Linked DNA regions of Homo sapiens: all the other regions are linked to region 2. Evidence: promoter capture Hi-C in 16 types of primary human blood cells and fetal thymus (Javierre and others, 2016). All regions are on one chromosome and are shown on one strand. Each heading gives the region's core, a stretch centred on a gene start or on the middle of the fragment in contact. The rest is flanking DNA. Distances are from core to core; before and after follow the strand shown. Region 1 overlaps MAP3K7 (mitogen-activated protein kinase kinase kinase 7). Region 2 holds the start of BACH2 (BACH transcriptional regulator 2). Region 3 has its middle 83 kb from the start of MAP3K7. Region 4 has its middle 140 kb from the start of MAP3K7. Region 5 overlaps BACH2 (BACH transcriptional regulator 2). Region 6 overlaps BACH2 (BACH transcriptional regulator 2). Region 7 overlaps BACH2 (BACH transcriptional regulator 2).

Evidence for each region. Contacts are between HindIII fragments. The CHiCAGO score rates a contact against its expected background, and 5 or more counts as called.
Region 1: a fragment that was not itself captured here is called in contact with the fragment with the promoter of BACH2 in region 2 in 1 of 17 cell types (naive B cells); the score reaches 5.2 in naive B cells.
Region 3: a contact is called between a fragment that was not itself captured here and the fragment with the promoter of BACH2 in region 2, in 1 of 17 cell types (activated CD4 T cells). The highest score is 7.1, in activated CD4 T cells.
Region 4: a contact is called between a fragment that was not itself captured here and the fragment with the promoter of BACH2 in region 2, in 9 of 17 cell types (activated CD4 T cells, naive B cells, total CD4 T cells and 6 more). The highest score is 16.4, in activated CD4 T cells.
Region 5: a fragment that was not itself captured here is called in contact with the fragment with the promoter of BACH2 in region 2 in 7 of 17 cell types (naive CD4 T cells, non-activated CD4 T cells, naive CD8 T cells and 4 more); the score reaches 21.2 in naive CD4 T cells.
Region 6: a fragment that was not itself captured here is called in contact with the fragment with the promoter of BACH2 in region 2 in 4 of 17 cell types (naive CD4 T cells, non-activated CD4 T cells, activated CD4 T cells and 1 more); the score reaches 8.5 in naive CD4 T cells.
Region 7: a fragment that was not itself captured here is called in contact with the fragment with the promoter of BACH2 in region 2 in 2 of 17 cell types (activated CD4 T cells and naive CD4 T cells); the score reaches 6.8 in activated CD4 T cells.

Annotation. Positions count from the first base shown.
Region 1 is chr6:90,539,011-90,542,820 of GRCh38, forward strand. The region is part of intron 12 of MAP3K7 (mitogen-activated protein kinase kinase kinase 7); the gene reads right to left. Among named protein-coding and RNA genes, the nearest start is that of MAP3K7, 46 kb to the right of the region's middle. RefSeq lists a silencer at 2,326-2,526. The HindIII fragment of the contact is 1,080 bases long and covers 1,999-3,078 here.
Region 2 is chr6:90,294,147-90,298,222 of GRCh38, forward strand. BACH2 (BACH transcriptional regulator 2) reads right to left here and starts at 2,697. Exons shown (of 9, transcript NM_021813.4): 1 at 2,334-2,697. It overlaps LOC105377891 (a long non-coding RNA gene), which reads left to right and starts at 3,093. Exons shown (of 7, transcript XR_942778.4): 1 at 3,093-3,590. It overlaps LOC124901361 (a long non-coding RNA gene), which reads right to left and starts at 1,060. Exons shown (of 2, transcript XR_007059676.1): 1 at 1-1,060. RefSeq lists an enhancer at 1,003-1,092 and silencers at 1,876-1,935, 2,561-2,610. The HindIII fragment of the contact is 2,083 bases long and covers 1,478-3,560 here.
Region 3 is chr6:90,502,523-90,506,555 of GRCh38, forward strand. No RefSeq gene overlaps it. Among named protein-coding and RNA genes, the nearest start is that of MAP3K7, 83 kb to the right of the region's middle. The HindIII fragment of the contact is 2,289 bases long and covers 143-2,431 here.
Region 4 is chr6:90,449,285-90,453,257 of GRCh38, forward strand. No RefSeq gene overlaps it. Among named protein-coding and RNA genes, the nearest start is that of MAP3K7, 140 kb to the right of the region's middle. The HindIII fragment of the contact is 8,218 bases long and covers 1-3,973 here.
Region 5 is chr6:90,072,122-90,075,929 of GRCh38, forward strand. All of the region lies in intron 5 of BACH2 (BACH transcriptional regulator 2), which reads right to left. Among named protein-coding and RNA genes, the nearest start is that of GJA10, 180 kb to the left of the region's middle. The HindIII fragment of the contact is 875 bases long and covers 1,074-1,948 here.
Region 6 is chr6:90,153,563-90,157,230 of GRCh38, forward strand. All of the region lies in intron 4 of BACH2 (BACH transcriptional regulator 2), which reads right to left. Among named protein-coding and RNA genes, the nearest start is that of BACH2, 140 kb to the right of the region's middle. RefSeq lists enhancers at 2,874-3,018, 3,052-3,668 and a cis regulatory region at 2,946. The HindIII fragment of the contact is 9,321 bases long and covers 1-3,668 here.
Region 7 is chr6:90,050,308-90,054,580 of GRCh38, forward strand. The region is part of intron 5 of BACH2 (BACH transcriptional regulator 2); the gene reads right to left. Among named protein-coding and RNA genes, the nearest start is that of GJA10, 160 kb to the left of the region's middle. The HindIII fragment of the contact is 5,124 bases long and covers 1-4,273 here.

The DNA of each region.
Region 1 (3,810 bases), core at 1,289-3,788, 240 kb after region 2:
TATGGGACACCATTCTCTTCATGTGTAAAATACCCAAGATTTAAAAAAATGCATAGCATGATACACTAGCATTACATTACTGCTTCATGGTAAACTGAACATGTAATTTTAAAATATATGTTCTAATTTAGGCTGCCAAAGTTTCGTATTTCTTTACTAATTTTAACAAATTCTGGCTCTTTCACTGGAAAGGTCCGTCAGGTGGTTTATTTGCTTTCCAATAAACCAGCTTTATTAGCTTAGAGTTGAATTTTTTAGATTACAAAAAGTGATCTTGGTAGACTATACAATATGGCAGAAAGGCCACCTAAATATTCATTATAAAGTTAGATTAACTTCCCTATTTAATATGCCACAAATAGAGAATTTTATTGAAAGTGAGGTGGCTATACACAGAAACTAGTACAGTACATCTTAGTATAGCACCCCTTAGCCCTAGGATCCCTATCAAAGGCTTACATCTGCTAATGACACTATCTGTGCTAGGTGAGAACTTGCCAGATCTAGAAAAACTCAATTCTTTCTCTCTTTGCCTCTTCATATTGGTGCTGCAGTAGTCTGGAGGAAATATTTAATAACTTACATGCTTCCAGTTAAAGAAAGGTTTACAAACATTAGTTACCGACCGGCTCTTGAACCAAATATACTATTAAAAAAGTGATATTTTCATCCTGGTGGAGAAAGCAAAATAGTGCTCAGGTGTCCTTGAAAAGCATCTCTGCTTCCAGTTGTTTAAGCATTCTATAAAGCCCTCCCCACCTAGATAATTTATTTGCCAATACCTGACATTTGAAACTTCTGAAGGAGGGCAACAAGATACAAGTATTAGAAGCCTAACTACTCATCTATTTTTCAGTTAAAATGTTTGGGCCTCTCTACATTCTACTTACTCCAATTTACTACTTATCATACTGTTAGTAAAAAACCAATATACAATAGAGCTAAACGTCCTTGACTGAAATTAAAAGCGAATACGCGTTTTTTATTCAGTTAAGAGATCTAAATGCGGCTGAAATCATAAGGACACCTAAGGTTTCTTTTTAGCTTTAAGAATGATATAACAAACAATAAATATCAATTAAGTTCAGGTTCTTCAGGAAACTAGGCAAAAATCTTATCTATTTCAGTAAGATCTGACTCAAAAACATTTGTATATTCAATCTTCTTTTGCATATCCTTAAGAACAGTATGTAAGACAGAAAATCCTCTTTGGTCAAGGCATTTTATTGCTCTCGAATGTTATGCCATATTATTTTAGGCTTAGAAATAACAAAAGGTACACTAAAGCAACACTGTTCAAGGTTCTCAAATTGAAGCACTTCAAGGCAATGTTCATCTATAGAATGGATGGTTTTCAAGTACTTGAAATCAAGCATTATAATCTAATCTGAACTAAGAAATAAATTTATCTATGATGATATAATAGCATTAAAAATGTCTGTAATTTAGAAAATTTTACTTTTGCATATCACATTTGGGAAACTCATTTCACTTTATAAAAGCAATCAAGCCGGTATGAACCATGTACAACAAATTTTATATCAGAGTAGAAGTGCAGAAGACTAATGTTTAATTAAATCTTTTATAGGTGGTAAGTATATATGTATATGACAGTATTTTTTTCCAGTAGATTTTAGAATGCATTATAATTACAGTTTATTTCCTTAAATGCTATAACTACTCACACAAAGGCTCCAGAGCAGAACAACCCATCTTCCATTACTGATGCTACAAGCATGAAAAATAATTCGCTTTCTTAACTACTTATTCTCTTACTCTACATGTTAAACTGAAAAAGGTTGTTCCTCTTTTTTTGTAATATTTAGGCATTCTACCTGTTCCTCTTTGACATTTGGATTTTTAAAAGAAATGTAAAATTTAGGTATTCTTCTAACATCAGATGAACTGCATTAGAATGTCTTACATAGTTTCACAATCCCAATAATCTATTTCATTTGTGTACTTGAGATGAAGGTGGGTGAAAAATAGATTCTTGGAAGCTTAGATAGTGACAAAAAGAAAATATGGGAAAAAGTAAAGAAAATCCATGCAAAACAATGATCTGTGTTCTTACTGCCCTTATTAAAGTCCTAGAACAAAAAAAATCTAGAAAAACTTCAAAGAATCCAATAATCTGCTACCTATTCCCTTTTCTTCAAATATAAATGTAACAAATTAGATGTACTGGCTGAAAGGAGAAAGGATATGGTTTTTAAAACTCAAGTTTTAATAAAAAACATTTAAGAAAATCTATTTCTTTTCTCGAAGTCCCTTCCAACTTACCAGCAAGCAAATGCATTAGAAAACTGTAGTTCATATGGTCTAAATACTGGGCAAGAAACTTCCACATTTACATTTACTTTGCTTAGGTAGCACACTGCTACTTGGCAGGACCTTCTCTACAAAGGAAGAGTCAGCAAAATGTCACACACTCTACTGGTAATTTGCTCTTAGCTGCGTGTCTTCCTTGGTAAAAAGGAGCCAGGCTAATCTATAAAGCTCACTCTTTTAAGGGCAGATGGACAGTGGAAAGAAGGAAGGGTTACCGTACAAAAGTTTGTCAGTTCTTCAGAGCCAGTAATATGGTAGAAGAGGTATAAAAAATTGTACAGTCTGACCCACAGGGAGTCCTAAGGTATTAAAGGTTAATTTCTGTATGATCTGAGAGACTACTAAATTGATAAATAGTGCTGTTTTGCTAAGTTGCTTTTTCTTCCACATTTGACTGATGGCATAGTATACACATTTTGAAGAGCGAGCAAAAAACAAGATTACAAGATTAGGGTCTTTGCATTTCTTTACCTATGACTAGGTTAGACATTTTAGTGACTTTAAAGATATATATACAAAACCTTTTTTGTGATGCTTGAAGGATTGCTCTTATTAAGAGAGGTAGTTCATTCCAAGAAGTACATTAGACTCAGTACATTGCACTTGGCCAAAGGGAAGTATTAACGAAACTCTTATCCATGTAAATAAGATCTTTAAAAAGCTATATTTAAAAAGAATCCTTGCAATTGGGTTTTAATGCTAATTAAACAGTTTGAATATATCAAGAAGTATTTGCTAATACCATAAAGCTTGTGGGAAATCCACTTAGAACAAAACAATTTCTAGAAAGTATTAAGAAATTTTGGAAATTAAGTATCACCCTTCTTTACAATTAAAATGTCATGTAGGAAATTTGAGATATTCCCAAAGGATGGGCGGTATTTTTATATTTAATTTAAAAACATTACCTATGAGCACATTCATGATTGGCTTTTATGTCCACTAGTGTCAATTCTACAGCTTGTATTCTTCTATTAAAGAAAGTGCACCTGAGTAAGTTAATGTTTGATATCTGAGGGGGGAAAAGCCTAAAAAGAATATTTAATAAAAGGTATTACTGAATAATATTTTCATATGAATAGCACTGCTGCTCTGGCAATTAAGAGAATTAAGGTTACCTGATTCCATAAAGGCCCAATGTCATAAAAGAGGATCTCCCTGGCTGAAGAGCTCTCCTTAATGTGAACACTAAGAGAAAGCAAGAAGAAATTACTCTAGCTTCTCTGACTTAAACAAAAGAACAAAAAATGGATGTGACTTGGAGTCAGAAGATCTGGGTTGGGGTCCTGGCTATATGATTCTGGAAAAACCACTAAACATCATCAGATCTAAGTTCTTCGTCTGTTAAACAGCTATAATTTCATCCGATAACCTAGTTGTAAGATTGTATAAAGGTAAAATAAGATGTACTTTAAGCTACTTTGTAGGGCACAAAGAACATCTAATCAGGGGTTTTCAGCCTCAGCACTGCTGCCATTT
Region 2 (4,076 bases), core at 1,447-3,946:
AGTGTGTGTCTCCATGTAATCCTGGCAAACACACTACCAACTGACATTTCAGTCCACCTGCAGAATAGACAGACAGCAGAAGAATTTACTCAACACATTCATGATTACCAAATGGCAAACCTGAAGCCTCCTGCAATGCAAAACGAAAATACGGCTCTGCACCAATAAAGTTATGTTCTAACAAAAATACTTTATTCCATGGTTGTGTGTTCCATTTCTGGGACTTCGCTCTATTTCAATGATATTCAGGTTTCGAGAGTAAAAAAAACGTTGGAAATGGGCAATCAATAAATTTCTTTCAAAAACCAGAATACTAGAAGGGAAAACATTTCAGCCACTCAAAGTTTTGTGGTGAAATTATAAACTCCAGAAAAACTGAATTTATAATGGAAATGCTGACAGACCTTTCAGTGGAGCAGTTTGAACGCAACACTGTAATTTGGCAATCTCTCTTACAGACTAAAGACTAATTCTAACAAGATGTCATTTTGACTCACGTTTATTATTACCTGCAAGAATGAAAAACGCCGTTTACTCGGGAGGTGCCCGAGAACCAGGGTGGGGCGATCTCACATTTTAAGCAAGACGCCCGCTGCCTTACCAAAATAGCCCTCTCCGCCAAAGGAGGGGCAGCCTTTCACGCTCAGCTTCTTTCATGTCAGCCCGAGCCTTTGCAGCAAGACGTGCCTTTCCTACATGTTACATTTTAATGATCTGAGAAAACCGTTATCAGCGTTAACATCTCTAATTTTACTCTAAACAGACAAAAGCAAAATATCTCATTAGGCATCATCTCCGCCAAGGTTCCCACTAGGCAGGAAAGGATTTTTATCTAAAGTAATTACCCTTTTTAGTTAAATACACTCAACAGATGAAATTTACAGAGAGTGAGAGACTGCAGCACTAGACAGCGAAGGTGAAAACCAGGAACGCCGCGTCTCGCCGCCCGCGGGCCCGCCGGGAGACTGCGGGTCCGTCTCGCGGGTGGGGCGCCCCGGTCCCTCTCGTTTCCTGGAGGCCACAGGTCACGGCGACGGCGGTGACCGGGAGAGCAGGCTGCGAGGCGCGCCTCATCGGGCCACAGACAAACCACCCCGGCAGCGGCCGCGCCGGAACTTCCCTCAAGTTACCAAACTCGCCTACGCGCGGGAGAGTGCTGGGGATGCCCCATGCGCCCGCGACCCCAGAAGCCAGGAGTGTGCCACCCCTTCACACACTCACTCCCGGCCCTGCACGCTTCCCCTCACGGTCCGAGTTCCTGCAAATGCTTGGCCAGACCGAGGTCGCCGAGATGCTCGCTCCAGTCTCTCCCCTCGTGGGCACCTAGGGTAGCCCGTGAGCGCCGCCCGCCGCCGTCTCCAGCGGCGCCGGGCTCCCGAACACCCGCCGGGTGAGCGAAGCACAGCGGGGCCACGGAGCGCCTCGACGCGGGGACGGGGAGGGCAGTGTCCCCTTCATAAACCAGTCTCCTGGGTGAAGCTTCTGGGGCTTGGAGACTGGAGTGTAGGGTGTGTGTGTGTGTGTGTGTGTGTGTGTGTTGCACCTTGACTTCATGGAGGATCTGTGGGAGAGGAGGTGCAAGGTTTCCCTCTCAGAAGCCTGGCGCCCTTAGGTCTTAGCTACGCGGGACGCTTTCCGACAACCCGATCTTTCGCTAGGAGAGATTCGATCCAGGTCTGCGCCGCGAGGCCCCCAGCTCGCCTCTTCCTGCGACCCTAAACTTGGGCTTTGATTCCCCGCCGGTCGCGGTGGTCCGGGCCACCCGGCGGCGGCTGACAGCTGAGCGCAAAGGCGCCGCGGCCAAGGTCCTCGCGGAGCAGCCCGGGATGCGCACGCCGAGGGTTAAGGAGGAGGCCGCCCGGCCTGGAGCTGGGATCGCAGGCTGGGGGCCGGGACACCCGGGCCTCGCCGGGCCGGGGGCAGGGCCGCGGGTCTGACAGCTGCTGCGGCTCGCGCGGACGCGCGCCTCCTGCAGCCCGCCCTCCCCATGCCTGACTTATTACTCTCTGCTCCTCCTCCCTCTGCTGTTCCAAAACACCCTTCGACGCCAGCAAAATACAATGCGCCTCGGCCGCCGTAAACAGCCGGGAGGGAGAGCACACATTCGGCGCGGCGCGGCCGCCGGCTCGGCTCCCACCCCCTTCCCGTTCCTAGAAAATGCCATAAAAGCGGGCAGGGCGCGGGGAGGGCGGCTGCGCGCCCGGCGGCCGGGGCTCCCTTCCCGCGCCGTTTCCCCACGCCTCCCCGCCCGCCCCGCGCGCCCGCTCCCCCCGCAAACTTGCCCCGCCACCCCGCCCAGCGGCGGGGCCCGGGGCCCGGGGCCCGGGACTCACCTCGCCGGAGAACTTTGCGTCCTTTTCCGCCTCCTCTTCCCCGCGTCTTCCCGGCTCGCAGCCCCCTCCCGGCAGCCGGCGAGGTGGGCAGTTCGTGGGTCACCGAAAGCTCGCGGAGGGGACGCGCATCACATGGCAGCTCGTTCCCAGCCCCCCGAGTGCGCCGGGAAGGGGGAGGGGAAGGGGCGAGGGGAGGCCGGGGGGAAAGCGAGAGCGGGGCGGCGGCGGGAGTGGGCAGGCGGGGTGGCGAGGGCGGCGGCCGCTCACGTTAGCGCTGTGCGACCGCAGCCCGGGCGTGCACGGCCGCTGCTGCCGCTGCTGCTGCTGCTGCTGCTGCTGAGGCGGCGGCGGCTCGGCGCTGTTTGCTCCGCGCCGCGCGGCTTGCGCTCTCCCCGGAACGCCCACACTCTCAATCGCTACATTGTTGACATTCGGCGCTGACGTCACCCGCTCCCCATTCACAATAACTTTACGGGAGCCGGGCAGCGCACCTCCCCGGCCGCTGGGGCGCGGTACGCCCGGCGACTAGCGTAAGCCGCTCCGCGAATGGCGCTCCGGGGGCTGGGGCGGGGGGCGGGGGACGGGGGCGGGCGCGCGCGCTCCGCTGGCTCGCGGGAGGGGGCGCGCCTCATGCCGCCGCAGCAGCAGATCTCCCCGCTTTGTGCGGCCGCGCGGCCCGGAGAGCCCCCTCCTCCCGGCCCGGCTGACCGCCCCGCTCGGCCTGGCCTTCCCGGCCACGAAAGACGAGGGTTGGGGGCATAGCAGGGTGAGAGTAGTGGTGAGGGCTGGTGTGGCACGTGGGGAGGGGGCCAGAGCCCTAGGTGCTGCACCTGGGGAAGGAGAGCAGACGTCGGGACCGGGGATCCCAGGGTTAGCTAGCGTTTTCCCGGAAGGGCAAGAAAAGATGCTCCACTGGCCCCCACAAAGCTGACCGGACTCCCTTTTGGGTGGGGACCGGGCGAGTAAAAGCAGCCTTTTGAATGTTGACTTCTCAATCCTTTTCAGGAGGCCCTCCGCCTGCCCTACTGAGCGAACCTTTAAGCCCCCAAGCCAGTGTTTTTGGAAAGAGAGTGGTCAATTTCAGGAGGACATTAAAAGCCAACCTCCCGGGCTTCAGCCCCAGCTCCTACTGCCTTCCAGCCACTCTCCCCTGCCTTTCCTTTCTGCGGCTCTTAGGATGTTGTTGCTGCCCTTAAAGGCCGTCGTGTGAGTGCCCTGTCAGAAGAAAGCTTGGTGGTGGTTAGGATTTTACAGAAGGTAATTAGGATTTAGGCTGAATGTACATTTGCAATAAAATAAGGTTGTGTTAGTGTTGTGCTGGTGCCTGCAACTTTACCTCTTGCCAAGGCCAGAAAATTCTGCCACGTTTCCCTAAACACCTATAACTTGGCCCTCTTGTGTACAGGCAGTATTCCATATTATTACACGTGGTGCTGATTTTTAATGAATATTATAAAAGTTTGGCTCGCTCTACTGAGAGAAGGATCATAAATCCCCCCTGTAAAACGGGCACTGGCGTATGCTGAGGAAGCAGTGAAGCGTCCTGGGAGTCTTGTGATATCATCTAAAGTGTTGCTCTGAACTACCTTCATTTGAGGGCAGAGTTTTGAAAGGCCCCATTTGGAATGTCTGTGTGGAAAGCTAAGTGATGGCTGAAAGCAAGCTGAAGGTGCTGAGCTAATTTTTCTAACAGCACTGCAGAGTCCCTGCGTGGAGGTCTGGCACGGGACTGTGAGATTTTCT
Region 3 (4,033 bases), core at 37-2,536, 210 kb after region 2:
ATTTGTCATTATGACAGGTTGTTATTTACGGGGAATGGCAGGTTGTTGAAATCCTAAATGAAGCACTAAGGAATGAAGCTCTAAGGACCAATTATAGCAACAATGCTTAAACATTTCAGGCAGCAAAATTGGCTCAGCTACAAGCTTGTTTAGGCAAGAAAAAAATGCATATTTCCTATATTTTTGATTTATAGACCAACCCAAAGAGTGTGTGATTTCTGTTGATTTTAACATAAAGTCACCTAAATTAGGAGTATGCAGTTTTAACTGCAATAGTTGGCATGGCTAATATGGGAAAAAGTAGATTAACCCGATGCCTCCCAAATGTGCAAATATGCTAAGCCATGTTTAAAACTAAGGTAACTCTCTAGGGTAATTTTTCTGGTCTGCTGTGATGTCCCCAAGTGGCTGGCAAGTGTCATCTATTGGCAAGGCCTGAACAAGAGCACAGCAGGAAACTTTCCCCTTATCTGTTTGAATGAATGACTAAGCAAAGTTTAAAGGCCATTTCACTCTGCTCTTAAAGGTATGTGAGCATGAAGATGACATGCTCCTTTGGTTCCCAGTTTCAGTGTCTGATCAGTTAGGCATAAAGGTGCTTTTGTCTACACAGGTTTCATGTGTGTGTTCTGTTGATGAGTCTGTTGACAACTCCATAAACTAAGTGTCTCCAAGGCAGGCAGAGATTGAGATTTGTTTCTCAGAGATTAATGAATGTGCCTCCATTTCTTTCCCTCAAAAGAGACAATACCACTTCCTGTAGCTTTCCTTGCGTGCTTCAGATTGAAAACCTTATTGGGCTGCAGAAAGATTTATGATTCACGTATATGTCGGTGGCTATTACTGTAGAATAATCTGGAAAACTGCTAGTCACAATTTGTTCCCTCTCAATGGTTACCGACTGATTCATTATGCTGGGCTCTTGTGTCTTCTCTCCTTCCTTCACATCTCTCCTCAAAATGTTAGATTCTTTGCCACACTATTTACAGACTGTGGTAAATATAGCAGGTTGATATCAGGGTCACTTGTATTATATATGCTATAATGCCTACACCATGTATTTTTATGTCAAGTGATTAAGAAATGTATAAGAAAAATGGTAATAAGCTCTCCATCACCATCCACCCTTCCTGGGATAAACACTGTTAAGAGTATCCTTCTCTCTTGTTTTCTGTATTCATATGCATGTCATATTATAATTTTTTGTCTTGCTTAACAGTTTTTTTTGACCTAAATAGTATATTTGCTCTTCAATGTCCTATTTTCATGTAGCAATAGGTCACAGACATCCATCTAGATCTCTGTATATAGATTGAATGCATTCCTTTAAAAAACATTAATTTACCATAATTGATTCAATCTTTCCCCTACTGATAGACATTTTTCTTGTTGAGGTTATTTTTTTAATAAAAAATTTGGGGGCCATTATACACAGTGTTTCAAATAACTTCTTGGTATCTATGTCTTTACATACAGATATTCTTAAGGCTATAGATTTTTCAAAGTAGGAATGTTGTGTCCAAGGGTATATTTTTACTTTTAATCGAGGCTTGTTTTGTTATATTTAATACTTTCTAAGTAATAAATACAACAAAATAATATAATTATATATAATATAATAATAGATATTATATAACATATTACATTATCTATTATATATCTACTATCATATATAATATATAATAAATGTAACAAAATTAATAATATATTAATACTTTCTAAGTAAAAACTATAACAAAACAAGTCCAAGATCTCTACACTAAAAACTACAAAACATTGCTGAGGGAAATTAGAAAAGATCTAACTAAATGGAGAAAATTCCTATGTTCATAGATTGGAAAATTCAACATTGTTAAGATGTCAATTTTCCCCAACTTGGGTCTATACATTTAAGGCAATCCCAATCAAAATCCCAATAGACATTTTTTTTTTGGTAAAAATTAACAAGCTGATATTAAAATTTTTGCAGAAATTGCTAAATAATTTTTTAAAAAGAACAAAATTGGAGAACTTACATTACTGATTTCAAGAGGTGCTATAAAGCTACAACACGAAAAAGCTACAACAATGGAGAAAAATAGTGAATTCACCAACAGACTCATATACACATGGTCAACTGATTTCAACAAAAGAAATAAGACAATTCAATGAGGAAAAGAAAGTCAATCAATAGTGCTGGAATACAACTGCATATCTGTATGGAAAAAAAATGAACATTGATTCTTACCTTAAACCAAATATAATAAATACTCAAAACGGATCACAGACCAAAATGTAAAAGCTCAACTATTAGGTTGGTGCAACAGCAATTGTGGTTTTTGCCATTAAAAGTAATTACTGTTGCACCAACCTAATAAGTAACTTCTAGAAGGAACAGAAGGAAAAATCTTTGTGAGGGGTAGGCAAAGATTTTTTAAAACAGAACACAGGAAGCTTAAAATAAAAAATTAATAAATTGGACTTCATAAAAATTAAACCTTTTTCTCTTTGAAAAATATCAGTAAGAAAATAGAAAGGCAAACAGAAAAGAAAATATTCACAGCACAGATATCAGACAACAAACTGTAACAAGAATATACCAAAGTCTTACACCTCAATATGAAGAAAGGAAACAACACAATTTTTTTAAATGGGCAAAATATTTTAAGACACTTCACCAAAGAAATTATATGAAAGAAAAGCCCAATAAACACATGCCAAGGGGCTAAAAGTAGTCATCAGGGAAATGCAAACTAAAACCACAATAAGGTCCCACCACACACCTATTAGAATGGTTAAAATGAAAAAGACTGACTATACCATGTGTGGGCAAGGATATGGAGCAAACGGAACTCTCATACACTGCTGCTGGGAATATAAAATTACATAGTACTTTGGAAAGGTATGGAAGTTTCTTGAAAAGTTAAACATATACCTATCATAAAACTCAGCTATTCTAAGTATTTACCCAAAAGAAATGAACACACATGTCTACATAACAACTTGTACACAAACATTAATATCAACTCTATTTTTGTAGGAGTGCCAAACTGGAAATAACTCAACATATCCATCAATAGGTGACTAGATAAACAAAATTTGTTACATCGATACAATGGAATCCTGCTTTTAAAAAGGAAGAAACTATTAATATATGTTAATAACTTGGGTGAATATCAAATCATGCTGAGTGAAAAAGTCAGCCAAAAAGAGACTAAATCTTGTAAGATGAAATTCTATAAAATGCAAAATAATTACAGTTATAGAAAGCAGACCAGTAGTTGCTTGGGGATGAGGGTGGAGGAGAGATGGATTATCAAACGGAACAAGGAATCTTTTGGGATTGGGGAAACTCTCACATTCTTGATTGTGGTCATTTCACAGGAGAATACATTTTGTCAAAACCTATCAAATTGTACACTTTAAATGTACAGTTTGCATATAAATTATACCTCAACCTTTGAGCATTTATTTCTTAAGAACTTTAAAATCATTTTGTCCAGTTCAAAATAAACCCAATCTCAACTCCATTGGATTTCCAATTGAAATTACTTTAAACAAATCCATAATCTATATGCACGTATATCTACACCAAATATTTAATATTGTCTTATCATTTAGGAAAATGTTAAATTCAGGTCTTGTTTTACATTATTTTCGAAGCCTTTTTACTTTTCTTCAGCCCTTTCTATTTCCTGATAAATGTTTTTCTTCATATTTTATAATTTTACTGCTCTTGCCACTAAGTTTTTAAAAATATCATTTTTTACTTCCGATTATTATAAAGAAAAACTACTGATTTTGATATATATCAGATAGTCACTTTATCAAATTCTTATTAATTCTAACAGTATTTAAGCAGAGTCTCATGAACTATACAATTTTATATCCTGCAAACAAAAAAATTAATTTCCATCATTTACACTACTAACTATTCTCATTTTTGAGGGCTTTTTTCATCGAGCTGAAACTTTTAAAAAATGTTAGATGATGATAGAAAGTGAATCTCTGCTTTGTTTCAGGCCCTAGTTATTTCACGTTTAATTAAAAAATG
Region 4 (3,973 bases), core at 1,246-3,745, 150 kb after region 2:
GGAGATGCAATATTCCTGAGTATTTGGAGGCGATTTTGAAGGGCAGTGCCATTGAAAGGCCTCCTGGAGTGGATGAAAGATGATGACAGGCATAAATTTTATGGATCAGATCAAGGGTCTCTTTTACAACACACAGTCCTTAGAGTTTCACCGCCGCTCATGAATGCAACTAATACAGGAGATTGTGAAGATAGGTTACCAGTGGGAAGGAGGCCTAGGTTTCTGATTCTGCAGGCCCCATGCTTCATTCACAAAGTTGAAAGAGCCACTCTCTAAATTCAAAGGGAAGCAGCTGTCACAGAGAACTCAAAGGGCAAATCTGAGACCCCACTCAGAGTTGGCAGAAGACAGCAGGATCAAACTTCTCTCCCGGGCCCCAACTTATGAAAACTATCGCTATTGTATGGCTTGTAGGAATTGGCATATGAGGGTATTTCATCAGCAGTATCAAAACAATGAGGATAAAAATCATCACTGCATACTGAAGCCCTGGCATTTATGAGATGCAGCCATCGTTTCTGGGAAGGGTGGGAGCACATAATGCCCATTATCCTCTTAGTAATTGCCTTGGTCCCCAAGGATCCTAATGGGGAAGGGGCTTAATGAGCTTTGGCTCCCTAGAAAAAAAGAACTGAAAGAAAATAGCTATTGTTCTGAATATAACCATAATGATGCCCAGAACTGAAAACTCTGGAGTTACATAGGAAAGGGTATCCATGACTGGTGAGAGGGAGATTCTATTACCAGAAGACTTATTTCAATATGAAAATAATACATAGTGTAAGCCAAAAAGTATCTGAGACAGATCTCCATCAACTTAGAAGTTTATTTTGCCAGTTAAGGATCATAACCCATGACATAGTCTCAGGAGCTCCTGAGAACATGTGCTGAAGGCAGTTGGGTTATAGCTTGGTTTTATATGTTTTAGGGAGACATAAGACATCAATCAAGGTATGTGAGATATACAGTAGTTAGGTCCGGAGAGGCCAAACAACTTGAAGAGGGGAGGGGTTGCTTATAGGTCATAGGTGAATTCAAAGATTTTCAAATTGGTGATTAGTTGAAAGGGTTAAACTCTGCCTGAAAAGTTGAAGTCGGCTTGAGGTAAGGGTTGGGGGGTGGTGGTTGTGGAAGCCAAGGTTTTTATCATGTAGACAAGCCTCCAGGCTTCAGAGAGAATAGATGTGAATGTCTCTTACCAAAGGTATCAGACTGTTTGGAGAGACCTGGTAAAGGAAGCAGATTCTCTACAGAATGCTAACTTCCCCCCACAAGAAACAGCTTTGCAGGGCCATTTCAAAACGTGTCAAGTAAGCATATTTTAGGGTCAAAAAACTTCAGTTTCTTTCAGGGCCCTGCTATCTGTCATGTGATGGTATAATAGTGAGGTTGAAATTTGGTGTCTTATGGCTACAGAGAGTCTGTTCAGTCAGACAGACTCCAGCCCCATCTCTGCCCCCCACCTTTCCATCATGACCTGAACTAGATTCTCAGGTTTCATTGTGTCCCCTTGGCTGAGAGGAAGACCCATTCAATCAGTGGGAGGGGCTTAGAATTTTATTGTCATTTATTAGCATTACCAAAATGCATAGAAAACACGAGCTGCATTCAGCACTTATTTATTGAGCATGTAGTAGGGACTAGCACTATTCTAGGCACGAAAGGTGCAGCCATGAATATGACAAAATGCTTGTTATCGTGGTTTTATGGTCCACGGTGGGGAAGATAATAAGCGAATCAGTAAATAAAGAAAACATAGAGTGATAAGTGCTCTACATGGAAGCCACTTTAAGGTAGGATGAGAGAGAGTGAGGGGGTGTGGCTAAGGAAGGCCTCTTTAAGGAGGTGACCTTGAAGCTGATGTCTGAATGTCAAGGAAGAACCAAATCTACAAAGTTGAGGGGAAGAGCATTCCAGGCAGAGAAACAGCTCTCAGGCACTAAGGTGAGAGAGGTTGGTATATTTCAGGGACAGAAAGACACTGGCTTGTGTAAACCAAAAATAAAATTCTAAGGTCCCCCAGCCATCTGAATGGACCCCTCCTCTTGGCCAGGACACTACAAAATTAACCTGAAAAACTGGTTCAGGCCACGACAAGAAGAGGGGGTGGGACATGCCTCATTATACCCTCCCCACTTTTGAAATTTAGAAAAAGCTGACCAGCATTCAACATCAACACAGACCTTAAGTCTAATTAGAAACATTTACAACCTGTGCTCTCTGAGGCCTGCTACTTGGAGTCTTCATCTGCATGATAAAACTTTGATCTCCACAACCCCTTATCATAACACAGACATTACTTTCTATTGATAGTAACGCTTTTGACCAATTGCCAATCAGAAAATTTTCAGATCTTCCTATAATCTGGAAGCCCTCCTTCTCCTTACAGGCCTTTCCAGACCAAACCAATGTATATCTTACATGTATTTGATTGATGTCTCATGTCTCCCTGTAGTGTATAAAACTAGGCTGTGCCCTGACCACCTTGGGTACATGTTCTCAGGATCTCTTGAGGGCTGTGCCATGGGCCATGGTCTCTCATATTTGACTCAAAATAAATCTCTTCAAATATTTTACAGAGTTTGACTCTTTTTGTCGACACCTGGTTTAGGAGGCTGAGAAAGAATGATACAGCATGACATGAGCAGCGGGCAGGGGCCAGATCACAGAGGGCTATGTAAGCCATGGCAAGGCATTGAGTTTTACTATAAAGAAGTTAGGAAGCTACTGAGGGGCAGAAAGCAGAAAAATCACATGGCCAGATGAGTATAGTGTTTTGGAAACTTTTCATTTTGATATGATTTCAAACTTACAAGAAATTTGCAAGAACAGTGAAATGGTTTGGCTCTGTGTCCCTACCCAAATCTCACCCTGAATTGTAATAATTCCCACATGTGAAGGGTGGGACCAGGTGGAGGTAATTGAATCATGGGGGTTATTTCCCCCATGCCGTTCTCGTGATAGTGAGTGAGTTCTCACGAGATCGATGGTTTTATAAGCATCTTGCATTTCCCCTGCTGGCTCTCATTCTCTCCCCTGCCACCCTGTGAAGAGGTGCCTTCTGCCATGATTGTAAGTTTCTGAGGCCTCCCCAGCCATGTGGACCTGTGAGTATTGTTTGTCCCAATACTGGTGATGTTAGCTTTGATCACTTGCTTAAGGCCATGTTCCCCAAGTCTGTCCTCTTTAAAGTGACTAATTTTCCCTTTGTAATTAATAAGTCATTCCTGAGGAGTTTCTTTGAGACTATGTAAATATCCTATTGCTCATCAAACTTTTACTAGTTTTAGCACCCATTGATGAATTTCTAAATACATCACTTCTATGTTTATTATTTGGAATTCAACTATAAGGAAGAGCTTTCCTTTCTTCCATTTATTATGTTAAAAAGAGATCATAGGAAAGTAAAAATGAAGCAAGGAAATCAGTTAGTAGGTTGTTGAAGTATGCCACAGGAGAGGTAATAATGGCTTCTACCAATGTGTGTTGGCAGAGGATGGAGATAAATGGATAGATTCAGCCTATGTTTTAAGGTGAACTTGAGAGTTTTGTCAATGGTTTGGATGTGAGGGTGATGCAAAGAAAGTTATCAAGGATAATTTCTAGATTTTTTGTCATAAGCAAATGGTACCATTTAATGGCTCCAGTTGGTGGTACCATGATGGTGCCATATATCGAGATAGAGAAGACTGGTGGAGGAACTTTGGGAGGGAAAATCAAAAATTTTGATTGGGCACAAGTTTCAGATACTTGCTTAACATCCATGTGGCAGTGCCAAGGAGTTCAAATAGCTGGTGCGAGGGAGAGGGAGTGATGGGTATATACATAATATTTAAAGCCACGACACTGAGTGAGACTAATGAGTGCAGACGAAGAAGAGGTCAGAGCACAAATCCTGAGCTACTTGAAGAATCAGAAGTCAGGAAAATGAAGCAAATTTGGCAAAAGTGCTGGACAAGAGGCAATTAGCAAG
Region 5 (3,808 bases), core at 261-2,760, 220 kb before region 2:
TTAATTGTACTATGTTCTCCTGTTTTAAGAAGTATCTGTTGCATGGAGTTGAAAGTTCTTCAACTTGTTTACTGTATTAAGTGAGCATCAAATAGCCAAAGCACTGGCAATGTTACTATAATAAGTAGTTTTGGAGGTTGTGCCTCTACTTGAGTGAACTGTTTGATTAGGTTAGAAAAGCAAATGGTACCCTAAGTATCAAAAGGCAGCCAAAGGTCACTCAGGGCCACAGGCTGGACCACAGTGCTCCAGGGTCTTTGCCCCATTATGAGCTGATCTGTTTTTCCCTTCAATGCCTCCAGCCAGCAGTGTTGAAATGAGATATTTTAGGATTTCCAAACTATTTCTAAGGCTGTTAGTCACAAACTCTTATCAAGGCAGTTTTCTCAGGTTGGTTAGCAGACAGGCTCAGAGCCTCACCTTTGCAGGTCAAAGCTCGAGAAACCCTCCACATGATAATTCACGCATCTGTTATTTTTTTACCTGTCCCTTCTCTGCCTTTAGCTTCTCAGTCATCCAACCCCGCCTCTGTGAAAAGTGCACAATGACTCAAGGCTTTTCTTAGGCCTCTGACAGGTGAACAAAGAAAAACACCTTTCACAAATCCATTCTATCAAGGGATAGAAGAAGAGAGAACAGAGCCTTCAGTAAAGAACCCTAAACATCCCACCAGAAAGTCCCAAACAACCCTGAAAAGTGAGAATAAAACTACCAAAAGCTGACAGAGGGTAACAAGCATTATTTCCAACCCACACTTGTCCTTCTAAAAAAAACCAACCCGCTACTGAAAAAACCCCTGAAATGTATGAAATCTAACATCGTTAACATATTTCCTGTCCTCACATAGCTTATAAAAATGTTTCTGAGCTTTTCCCTGGCTCATTTACAACGATGAGAAGGAGCAAAAAGGAAATGCAACAGATGGTACTGAGGGAGGAGGTACTACCATCCTCGCTCACAGTCATCCATCTTCGCAGTAAGTTATCCCCGCTTGGGCGAGGTTTCAAACGTTTTTCAGATGTACCAATGGCGTATTCTTGCTCGAGAACAATGAAGATGAGGCTCCTTTAAAAAGCTTCAGGTTAGAAGGCATGTTTACTACTGTCTATTTTTGTTGTTTCTAAAAGAGATCACCTCAGCTTTCCCTCTGAACCTCCCCAAACTGACTCTGCGAGAATCTAATCTGGTACTGATTTAGAGCTGACAGGTGGTACATGCATAATTAAAGATGACCTAACACAGAATGCTCTCATTCCTGGCATATTATCAGACACTTAAGGAAAGCAATTATCAGTAGGCAATCTTTTCTGTCAACAGAGATCGAGATGAAACATTTCTTCAATTAAGAGAATTCTGCAAGGATGCTGTACATATCCATCTGCAAATACTTGAAAACCTTTAGAGGTTAATACTAAGTCAGCTCAATGAAACACCTTTGGCCAGTTAACACATGCTCTCCTCTCCTCCCACTTTTCCTGGGAGGTCACATTTCAAACATCAAAATCGGAACAATTTTAAGGTGCTGCCAGACACCCTGACATGAGCGGACAAGGAAATCTCTGCATTTTTCTGCCTTGCTGAGGTCTGAAAATATAACAAGTTTTCCTTAAAGGTTCAAAGCAAAAAAGGATAGGGTTCACATTAAAGCAAATTCAATTAAAATTTCCCTTCAGAGCAGGATTATTCCCTCTCCATGCTCCACCCATGTCAGAAGTATTTAGAGAATTATTATCAAGCCTTAAAACTTCGTCTTGAATCTAAGTGATTTAAAGGATTTTTTTCTTTCATTTTGAAGAAATCAATATTACTCAAAGAAAAAAGGGACTTGACAAAAACGGAGGAATTTCCCATTTCAGGTGAAGGAGGGAAGAGGTGCCGCATTTCCTGATAGAATACTGTGCTTTTTATAAATTATAGTGCATGCACTTTGTATAAATGAATGCATTTAAGCTTTCCTTAGAACAGAAATTGCTTTAATGTTATAGTGAGACAAGTGATTTTCTTTTCTTTTTTAAAAGGGTAGTTTATAAGTTAATGGTTTTTTGAAGCCCATGTAAAAACTGCCTTCCACAAGACAGAGAACTTCACAATGTTTGTGGTGCATATTTTGCCACATTTCACAAGAGGTCTTATTGTTTAAATTCTTATAGCCTTATGTCATATGTGAACAAATGACTTTATTGTTCATTTGAACATGTCTTTATAGGATCTCTGGTGGTAGAGCTAGTGTTGTTGTTTGCATTTTTCCCCTCAACAAGCCAGAACAAAAGTCTCTTTTACTGAAGCGCTGGGAACTCAGGGACGATGGCAGTGTGGCAGCAGTTGTCAGTTGGAAACACCATAATGATAATGTAAGTGAAGTGCTCACATTAAGGGGTTGACTTCTGACAAGTCAAGGTCTACAGAAAAGTTTCCGCTACAGCAGACATTATGGTAATGCAAAAACAGAAGTACTTAATAGAATAATTAAGAATCATCCAGTACACTATTACTGCAGTAGGGCTCAATTCCTTTCGAGATATGCTTTCCTTGGAAGAGACTCCATTCAGAATATTAGGGGAAAAATATCAGTAGCCTTTGGGGAGAACATAATCAGATGGGAGGTGGAAGCGATGGCGGGATCATTAATGGGAGATTCAGTAGGACTCAAAGCTCAAGTTCATTATATTCCTTAGAACTAAGAATAGCTTCTGAATGAGTACTCACAATTCTCCACAGACCTATTTCTCCTAAGGAGCTCCCCCTTTCTCCCTTTCCAATTTTAATCTAAGAAAAAGAATAGAATACAGACAGACATGGGTAGGTAAGCAGGAACAAAGGAACCTCTACAGAATGGAAGAGAATCTAAGCTAGTTCCGTTTTAGATGTTGTTAAATCCCTTTGACCAGGATTCAATTTAGAACAACTCAAAAGATACAGTTTGACAGCATGCTGCATCAAGAGGACAGGAGAAAGAAAGAAGTCACAGGTGTAATGTTGTGGCAAACAACAAAATGTTATTTCCCAGTGCATGTCATGGACGAAAAGAACATATAAGATATAAGGCACATACTACCATTAAAGTAAACAGAATACAAAAAGGAAAGATTTTAGTGAGTTTATGTAGGGAGAGACCCTCATTTCTCACACAACTCAGAGTCCCTGACTTTTGTAGGACTTCAGTGAATAAAGCAAAGTCTGTAAGCACAGCCTTTCTATGCTGAGGATGATATATGGCACAAAAACATTTTACATGATGCCTTTTACACTTAGATATTATTTTAGAATCATAAACTAAAAGCGTTTTTAAGGTGGAGGTACCCGGCATAAAATAGATGTATCTTCTTTTTAACCAAGGCTTCTCCTGTCCACACTCAAACCTGGCTTTCCAAGTGTGTTGGCTTTACTATTTTATGATTGGATGAATAAAATAAGACTGTTAACTATGGCTACAAAATAAATTACGATACCCTGACCCCAACAGAGTATTATTTTGGAAAGAAAAAAAGTCAAATCCAAGATATTATTATCGTAACTGCAATCTACTTGTGACCCTGTTTCAGAAAACCTGCCATTTGGAAGCCTTATGGAGACATTTTTCAGAATCTTATGTATTCTCTCTGTTAACTGATCAGAGATACTTCTCAGGTTTCTTTCACCAAGGACAAAATATGACATATACTTAAGAAAGGATGGATATTGTTTCAGGATCTCTATCCATTCAGGAGAAGACACTTGCTTTTTAGTTAAAAAATGACTGTGACTAATTCCAGAGCACCTGGTATTGGCTTTTTCAAGAATGAGCATTTGAAGTCAAACTGGAAAATGG
Region 6 (3,668 bases), core at 564-3,063, 140 kb before region 2:
AGAAACACTAACAGATAAATTTTAGATTGTGGCAATTAAGTGAATAGCAATCTGATAGCTATAGGATTTACCTTCAAAATCCAGGCACATTCATGTATTTATACCAATCTCTCTCCATGCTAATATTCTTACAGAGGAATTTTATTAAAACATGGCTGAATCTATCATTTCAGTATTCCCAGGCACAAGGCAGTGAGGAAATAAAACACTCCTTCTATGTTATGGAACCTAGAGAAAATAATTCTTTCCTAACCAGTGGGGTACATTTTCCTCCTTGAGGTTCGTAAGACAAATTTTGAAAAAATCATGGTGCAGACTATGTAATTTACGCTTAAAGTATTGTAACTGCTTTTGTGTTAGGATTCATATTATGAGAAAATTCACATATATTACCCTTTTACGGCTTGGTTATAGATCTATTTTGATTATGGTCATTGGAGCCTAAAACATCCACACCCTAAAAAGAACATATCATTCCAATCTCTATCTCTTTTAAAATAGGGACTTTGGGCTATAGCATGTTTTTCTCAATAGCCCAACTCCCTACTCAGAGATACTACTATAAAAGCTGTATTTTGGCTGGGAGTGAGGGAGGAAACAACCCTAGCTATTTGCAGAGTAGAATTGCAGGTTCCATTGGCAAAAAAGTGCCAGAAGTAGAGGAAATGCAGGTTACAAAGCATACAGAGGAAGAGTGACAGATGAGATGAACAAAATTGATTCATGGAGAGAATCAGATCAGGACAAAGGGTAAAAAAGTCTCAAGAGCCCAATCACGTCAAAAAGATCAATTTTTAGGAGAAGTGTAGTCAATAGTGTCTTAAAACAAAATTAGAAGTGGAAGCAATTTTGAAGGTCATTTGAAGAGTAATCTACTCCTTTTATAGATGAGAAACTGAGACCTAGAAGGAGTAGGTGACTTTCTCAAGGCCACTCTATACTAGGAGGTGACAGACATGTGCTGCACAATTCAGAATAATGAGTGGTAGGTTCAGAACCCAAAAAGTTCATAATGAGCCAGGGTAGCCCCCTTCCTCTTTAAGGGACCCTCTCTCTAAGCGCCCCAGCCTTGCTCCCAAGGAGCACTGCACCTTCTGAATCTGGTGAGTGATGGGGAACAACAGGCCAGGAAGGGAGGAAGTATATCTGCCAATGCTCAAAACGTGTTCATTCTGATGGCCCTAGTTCTAGCCTGCCTTTTGAATAGCACTGCGTTAGTCAGTACTGGACAGGAAGCACAAGTGTTACTTTGGCAGGGTCCTGTCCGTAGAAAGAGACCCACTGAGAGCCTCTTGTGTACAGCCACAGACAATGGGATAACCCACATGCTGGCCCCTCCCAGTCAGCTACCAAGGCAGACTGCGGAAAAGGGGACAAACTGGCAGGAAGAACTTGAAGCAGGCTCAACCATAAGTCAGGTTGCACAGCAGACATGAGGAGAAGGGGCACTGCAAAGGGAGAGCTAGGGATCATAAATCCAATGCTATTTGAGGCGGAGTGTCTGCGATCTGTAATTTATATGGATATAATAAGCTCCATGCCTAAGACACCGCAGCCCCAAACAACCACCACCAAAACACAAAGCACATGTTTAAAGGGGTGAATTACCCAAAACATCAGGTTTCTCCACATGGCTAGACTAAGAAGGCTGCAAAATCTATCACTGTTATGGGCTGGAAAGCCAACCAGGAGAGCCTTCTTAGGACTTCTAAAGGGAAACATTCTGGATGAACCTCTTGGTCTTGTAAGAAGGGAGGCTAGTTATGTTTAACTATAAACACATGGCAGTAGGTGTCAGCGATATGTTCCATTCGAAGACTATATAATAAACATCATTTTTGGAAAAGGAAACTAAACTAAGAATAGATAACCTGAGAATGCCATGCAAGGGCTAGAGCAACTTCCCATCCTTTTGCAAGCATTTAGCAATCAGGTTTCGCCTTTAGCTGAACTCCTTTCATTTCATGCAATATTTAATTTATACAGAGATGATTCATTTGCAATAGTAAATCATCACAACATTCTGTAAAAACAACAACAATAACAAAAGACTAGAAATATAGGAGGCCTACAACAAGCACCTAATTTAAAACTGCAGCCTCTTCCTATCCCCAAATTGGCCCTCCTCTTTCCTGCTCTGTTTTTAAATTTTTTTCCTAGCAATTACCACCTTCTAACTTACTATAATTTGCTTGTTTATTGCTTATTTTCTGTTTTCCTCCAATAGAATAGAAGCTCTAAGAGGGCAGCAATTTGTGTCTGTTTTGTTCACAGACACATCCCATGCATTGAGAACAATGCCTGGCACAAGCAGGTGTGCAAAAATGCTGGCCGACTAAAAAAAGTCATGGATGGGTTGTCAATATTGCATAAAGTCCTATTCTCAGATGACAATTGAGGTGGCCTCATCACTAACTACAAGAGATTTTTTTTCCCCAATGGAAATCACCAAAGTTTTAAAAAAGATTGGAATTCCAAGGTTAGTGAGGGAGTTCCGCTATCTGATGAAGCAGTGACTCACCTGAAAAGTTCCAGGGGACCTAATCCCAATGTGCATGGGGCCCAACCTCCTGACCAGCCTTGCATATCTGAAGGTGGGGAGGGAAACTGAGGTAGGTATCGAGTGGTGTAAAAAAAACGCTTCACAAGAGTTTTTCTTTATAGCCTTACAATTTTAATACTTTTGTATAGCACTTCCCAGGCATAAGCAACACTTCCACTGCATCTTACTCTACTTTCATAACAACCCCTGTAGGCAGTAAGAATTATATTCTGAATCTTGGAGAGTGTGCTACTTGCCCAGGGTGGTTGGCCAAAGTGGGACTGTTCCTATTTTGGTTTAAGAATGCAAGTTTTTGGGTTACAAATTCAGTCCTTTTTCTACATGGCATGGCCAAAAATAACATTCTCAAAGATGGGTTACTTAGCTGCCCCACTCTCATGGTTTACTTCAGGGGAGCATTGTACAAAAATGGGTGATTGTCTAGTTTTCATTGCCAATATGCTGGGAAATAAAGAAAATAATGAGAGAACACCAAAGTTTCTACTACCAAACAAGTAGGCATTTCAGGTGGTCTTTACTTAGGGCCTTGCATTTCTTAGGCTAAGTTGTGTTATATTGAGCTGAGGTGGAGGACTATGAAAAAGAAAGGCAGCAGATTTCACAGGGACCATTCAAAGCCCTGCAGGAACAACAACAACAAAAATGCTATGAAACAACACGGAGTAACTCTTGCATAAAAATGGAGAAAAGTAGGGTCTAAAATACATGCACCAAAACCCAAAAAAGACATGGAATACATGACCCAGGCGGCCCTGAAAATCTCATCCTCACACAAAGAAGAACTGTGCAGCATCCAGAGAGAAGAAGGGATGGTAGCTGGGGAGATGAGACCTTTGGAGAATTAACTACCAAAGGGGATGAATCAGCTCACGTCTGACAACACCTACAGATTCTGTCAAACCTGCCGCACTCTTCAAGAGCTTCAAGGCTCACAAACAGGAAATTGCTGGGTATGACTTAACCTGACTCTCAACCTCCTTAGAGAAGAGCTTGCCCCAAAAAGGTATGAACAAAGTGCAGAGCCAAAGGGCAAGAGGTGAAGAAGAATACGAGCTCACATTCCAGGTGTGGGGCATTTAGTGGAAGGAAACACTTTTCGAAACAT
Region 7 (4,273 bases), core at 1,098-3,597, 240 kb before region 2:
TTCATTGATATGGCTTTAGATTCCATATTGCAACTAACTTTTAAGAAGTTACCACTTGTCAAATTTTAACGTAATATCGAAGAAGAACACCCACAATATTTGAAAAACCTATTAACTCTATCCTTGTCCAAATACACATCTGTGAGGCTGAATTTTTTCATATAATGAAACAAAAATGACATATCACAAGATTGAACACTAAAAGAGATATTAGAATCTAAATGTCTTCTAGTATGCTGGACATTAAAGGTATTGGGGAAAATACAAAACAATGCAATTCTTTTCACTTTTATCTTGAAAAATATAGTTTTTTCATAAAGATATGTTATTCATGTTAACATGTAGTGAGCTTATTACTGTGATTTTAAAATTAACTAATAGATACTTTAAATGTTCAGTTTTAATTTCTAATAAGGTAAATATAGATAAAACCCAAATAAACGAAAGCTCTTTGGGGTTCTCGGTAATTTTTTTTTTTTTGAGATGGAATCTTGCTCTGTCGCCCAGCCTGGAGTGCAATGGCGCGATCTCGGTTCACTGCAACCTCCATCTCCTGGGTTCAAGCGATTCTCTCCTGCTTCAGCCTCCCAAGTAGTTGGGATTACAGGTGCCTACTACCATGCCCAGCTAATTTTTGTAGTTTTAGTAGAGATGGGGTTTCACCATGTTGGCCAGGCTGGTCTTGAACTCCTGACCTCAGGTGATCCATCCACCTCAGCCTCCCAAAGTGCTGGGATTACAGGCTTTTACAGGCTGGTAATTTTTAAGAGTATAAAGGGATTCTGAAACCAAAATTTTGAGAACAATTGACCTGAGCATATTAAACAATACAATTTTAGTTTATTTAGGTCTTGCATAAGTTCTGTTAGATTTGTTCTGAGGTACTTAAATTTTTGTTATTATCATTAATAACTTTTTAAACATTACTTTTCTGTGTTACTGGTATATAAGGCAATTAATTTTTATTGATATATATTGTATATTGATCTTATATCCAGTCACTGTGCTAAACTTTCTCACTGGACTTACTCTTTTACATCAGTCTTACTGTTAGTACAGGACTGGCAAATTATGATCCTGTAGACTAGATACAGTCTACCATGTTTTTAAAACAACAATTTATAGGAACAGAGCTCTATCCACCCATTTACGTATTATCTATAGCTGCTTTTGCACTACAGTGGCAGAGTTGAGTAGTAGTGAGAGAGACTATGGCCCACAAAGTCAAAAATATTTACTATATGCCTTTTTACAAAAAAAGTTTACCAAACCCTGTATTATGAACTCCATTCACAGAACCAACTTTTGGCTCTGTTGATACCCTACATAGTATTTACAATTTCAATTTAATTAATTCTGTTCTCATCTTTATTCATCCTTCCTTTCTCATTCGTCTTTTTTTTTACCTTCTCAAAGTTAGCTTCTTAATTTTCACTTTTTCCTTTTCTAGTAACAAACCTGCACGTTCAGCACATGTATCCCAGAACTTAAAATAAAAAATAAAAATAAGAAAAACACTTGAGACTATAAATTTTCCTCCAAGTACAACTTTTACTGTATCCCACAAGTTGATATATCATATTTTCATTATCATTCAATTCTAAGTATTTTAAATTTTCCATTATTACATCTTTGATCAATGAATTATTTTAAAATGTTAAAAAATTTCCACATATAAGGGGAATTTTGGGGAGTTTATGTTTTAGTTACCGAATTCTAATTAAATTGTATTATGATCAGATAATGTGGTCATTATACTGATTCTTGGAAATCTGTTGAGACTTGTTTTAGGGGCATAGTATGAGGGCAAGTTTTGTAATTCTTCCATATGAAGAACACATATATTCTATTTGTTTGATGCAAGATTCTATGAATCAAACTATTCAGTTGTACTGCTTCAATGTTATATTTCTTTACTAATTATTTGTTATGTGCTTGACCAAGCAATATCTTGGAGAAACATGAAATTTCTCTATAGTTTTATTAGTTTTTGTTTTACATGTTTTGATGCAATATAGAAATGTTATACCTTTCCAGTGAATTAAAACCTTATCAATAGGTAGTGCTCTCTCTATCCTGATTTTTTTTTGCCTTAAAGTCTTTTATCTATCTATCTATCTATTTATTTTTGAGACAGGGTCTTTCTCTGTTACCCAGGCTGGAGTTCAGTGGCATGATCTTGGCTCACTGCAACCTCCGTCTCCTGGGTTCAAGCGATTCTCATGCCTCAGCCTCCCGAGCAGTTGGGATTACAGGTGCAGGCCAGCATGCCTGGCTAATTTTTCATATTTTTAGTAGAGACAGGGTTTCGCCATGTTGGCCAGGCTGGTCTTGAACTCCTGGCCTCAAGTGATCTGCCTGCCTCAGTCTCCCAAAGTGCTGGGGTTACAGGCATGAGCCACCACACCCAGCCCTTAAAGTCTATTTTGACTGATATCAACAAAGCTACATAGCTCCTTTTTGATTGGTATTTGCTCGAATACGAATTGTTAAATGTGTATTTCTCTAAACACTGTATAGCTGAATTGGTATTATATTTTTTAAAAAATCTTAATGTTTACTCTATTTTTTAGCCAGAAAGTTTAGGCAATTTACATATATTGTGATTGCTGATATATCTGCATTTGTTTTTATAATATTATTTTCTATTTGTCCTACTTTCCTATGCTTTATGTATTTTTTCTTTCTTTTTTGATTTTTAAAAATCAGGCTTAGAAGTTATACACTAGTTCTTTTCTTTTAGCAGTTACCCTTGAAATCCAAAGTTAGTAGTTTAACCCCTTCAGAACAACAAAAGGAACTTATAATGCAAACTCTGATTATCTCCTTCCTCATATATAGGGAGTTTTACACAGTATTTTAAACCAGCAATATTTGTTTAGATTTGCCTACATGTTTACCAATTTCTTTGCTTACAATTTCTATTTTTCAGACCTTTTGCTATCTCTTTTCTTCTTTCTGAAGTATACGCTTTTTTTTTCTTTTATTTAGAGACAGGGTTGTACTTTGTCATCCAAGCTGGAGTACAGTGGTGTGATCAAGGCTCACTGCAGTCTTCAACTCCTGTGCTCTAGTGATTCTCCCGCCTCAGCCTCCTGAGTAGCTAGGACTACAGGTATACACCACCCATTTGGCTAATTTATTTATTTATTTTTGTAGAGCTAGGGTCTCACTGTATTGTGCAGACTGGTCTTGAACTGGCCTCAAGCAATCTTCCTGGCTTGACCTCCCAAAATGCTGGGATTACAGGTGTGTGTCACCATACCCAGCCTGAAGTATATTCTTTCAAGTTCCTTCAGTGTAAGTCTGCTGGTGGTAAACTCCCTTAGGTTTTGTACGTCTGAAGAAAATACTTCACTCTCATTTTGAAGGTTATTTTTGCTGAAAACACAATTTTAAGTCGAAAATCATTTTCTCTCAGAACTTTGAAAATATTTCATCATCTCCTGGATTTAGTCATTGCTGTTGAGAAGTCTGCTGTCAGTCTAAGTATTGTTCCTCTGTGGATGTGGTCTGTTTTCCCTATGGCTCCTTTTAAGAGAGCTGTCTTCAGTGATTCACAGTTTTACTACGGTATAAAAAGTTGTGAAGGCCTTTTTATTTGTCTGTTTAGATACACTGCTTCCTATATCTCTGGATCAGTATTTCTCATTGAAAAATTCTGGAATGCCGGTGGGGAGGAGCCAAGATGGCCGAATAGGAACAGCTCCGGTCTACAGCTCCCAGCGTGAGCGATGCAGAAGATGGGTGATTTCTGCATTTCCAACTGAGGTACCGGGTTCATCTCACTGGGGAGTGCCAGATAGTAGGTGCAGGACAGTGGGTGCAGCGCACCGTGCACGAGCCAAAGCAGGGGGAGGCATCGCCTCACTCGGGAAGTGCAAGGGGTCAGGGAATTCCCTTTTGTAGTCAAAGAAAGCGGTGACAGACGGCACCTGGAAAATCAGGTCACTTCCACCCTAATACTGCGCTTTTCAAATGGGCTTAAAAAATGGCACACCAGGAGATTATATCCCGCACGTGGCTCAGAGGGTCCTACGCCCATGGAGTCTCACTCACCGCTAGCACAGCAGTCTGAGATCAAACTGCAAGGCGGCAGCGAGGCTGGGGGAGGGGCGCCCACCACTGCCAAGTTAGTTGTTTGATTAGGTAAACAAAGCGGCAGGGAAGCTCGAACTGGGTGGAGCCCACCACAGCTCAAGGAGGCCTGCCTGCCTCTGTAGGCTCCACCTCTGGGGGCAGGGCACAGACAAACAAAAAGACAGCAGTAACC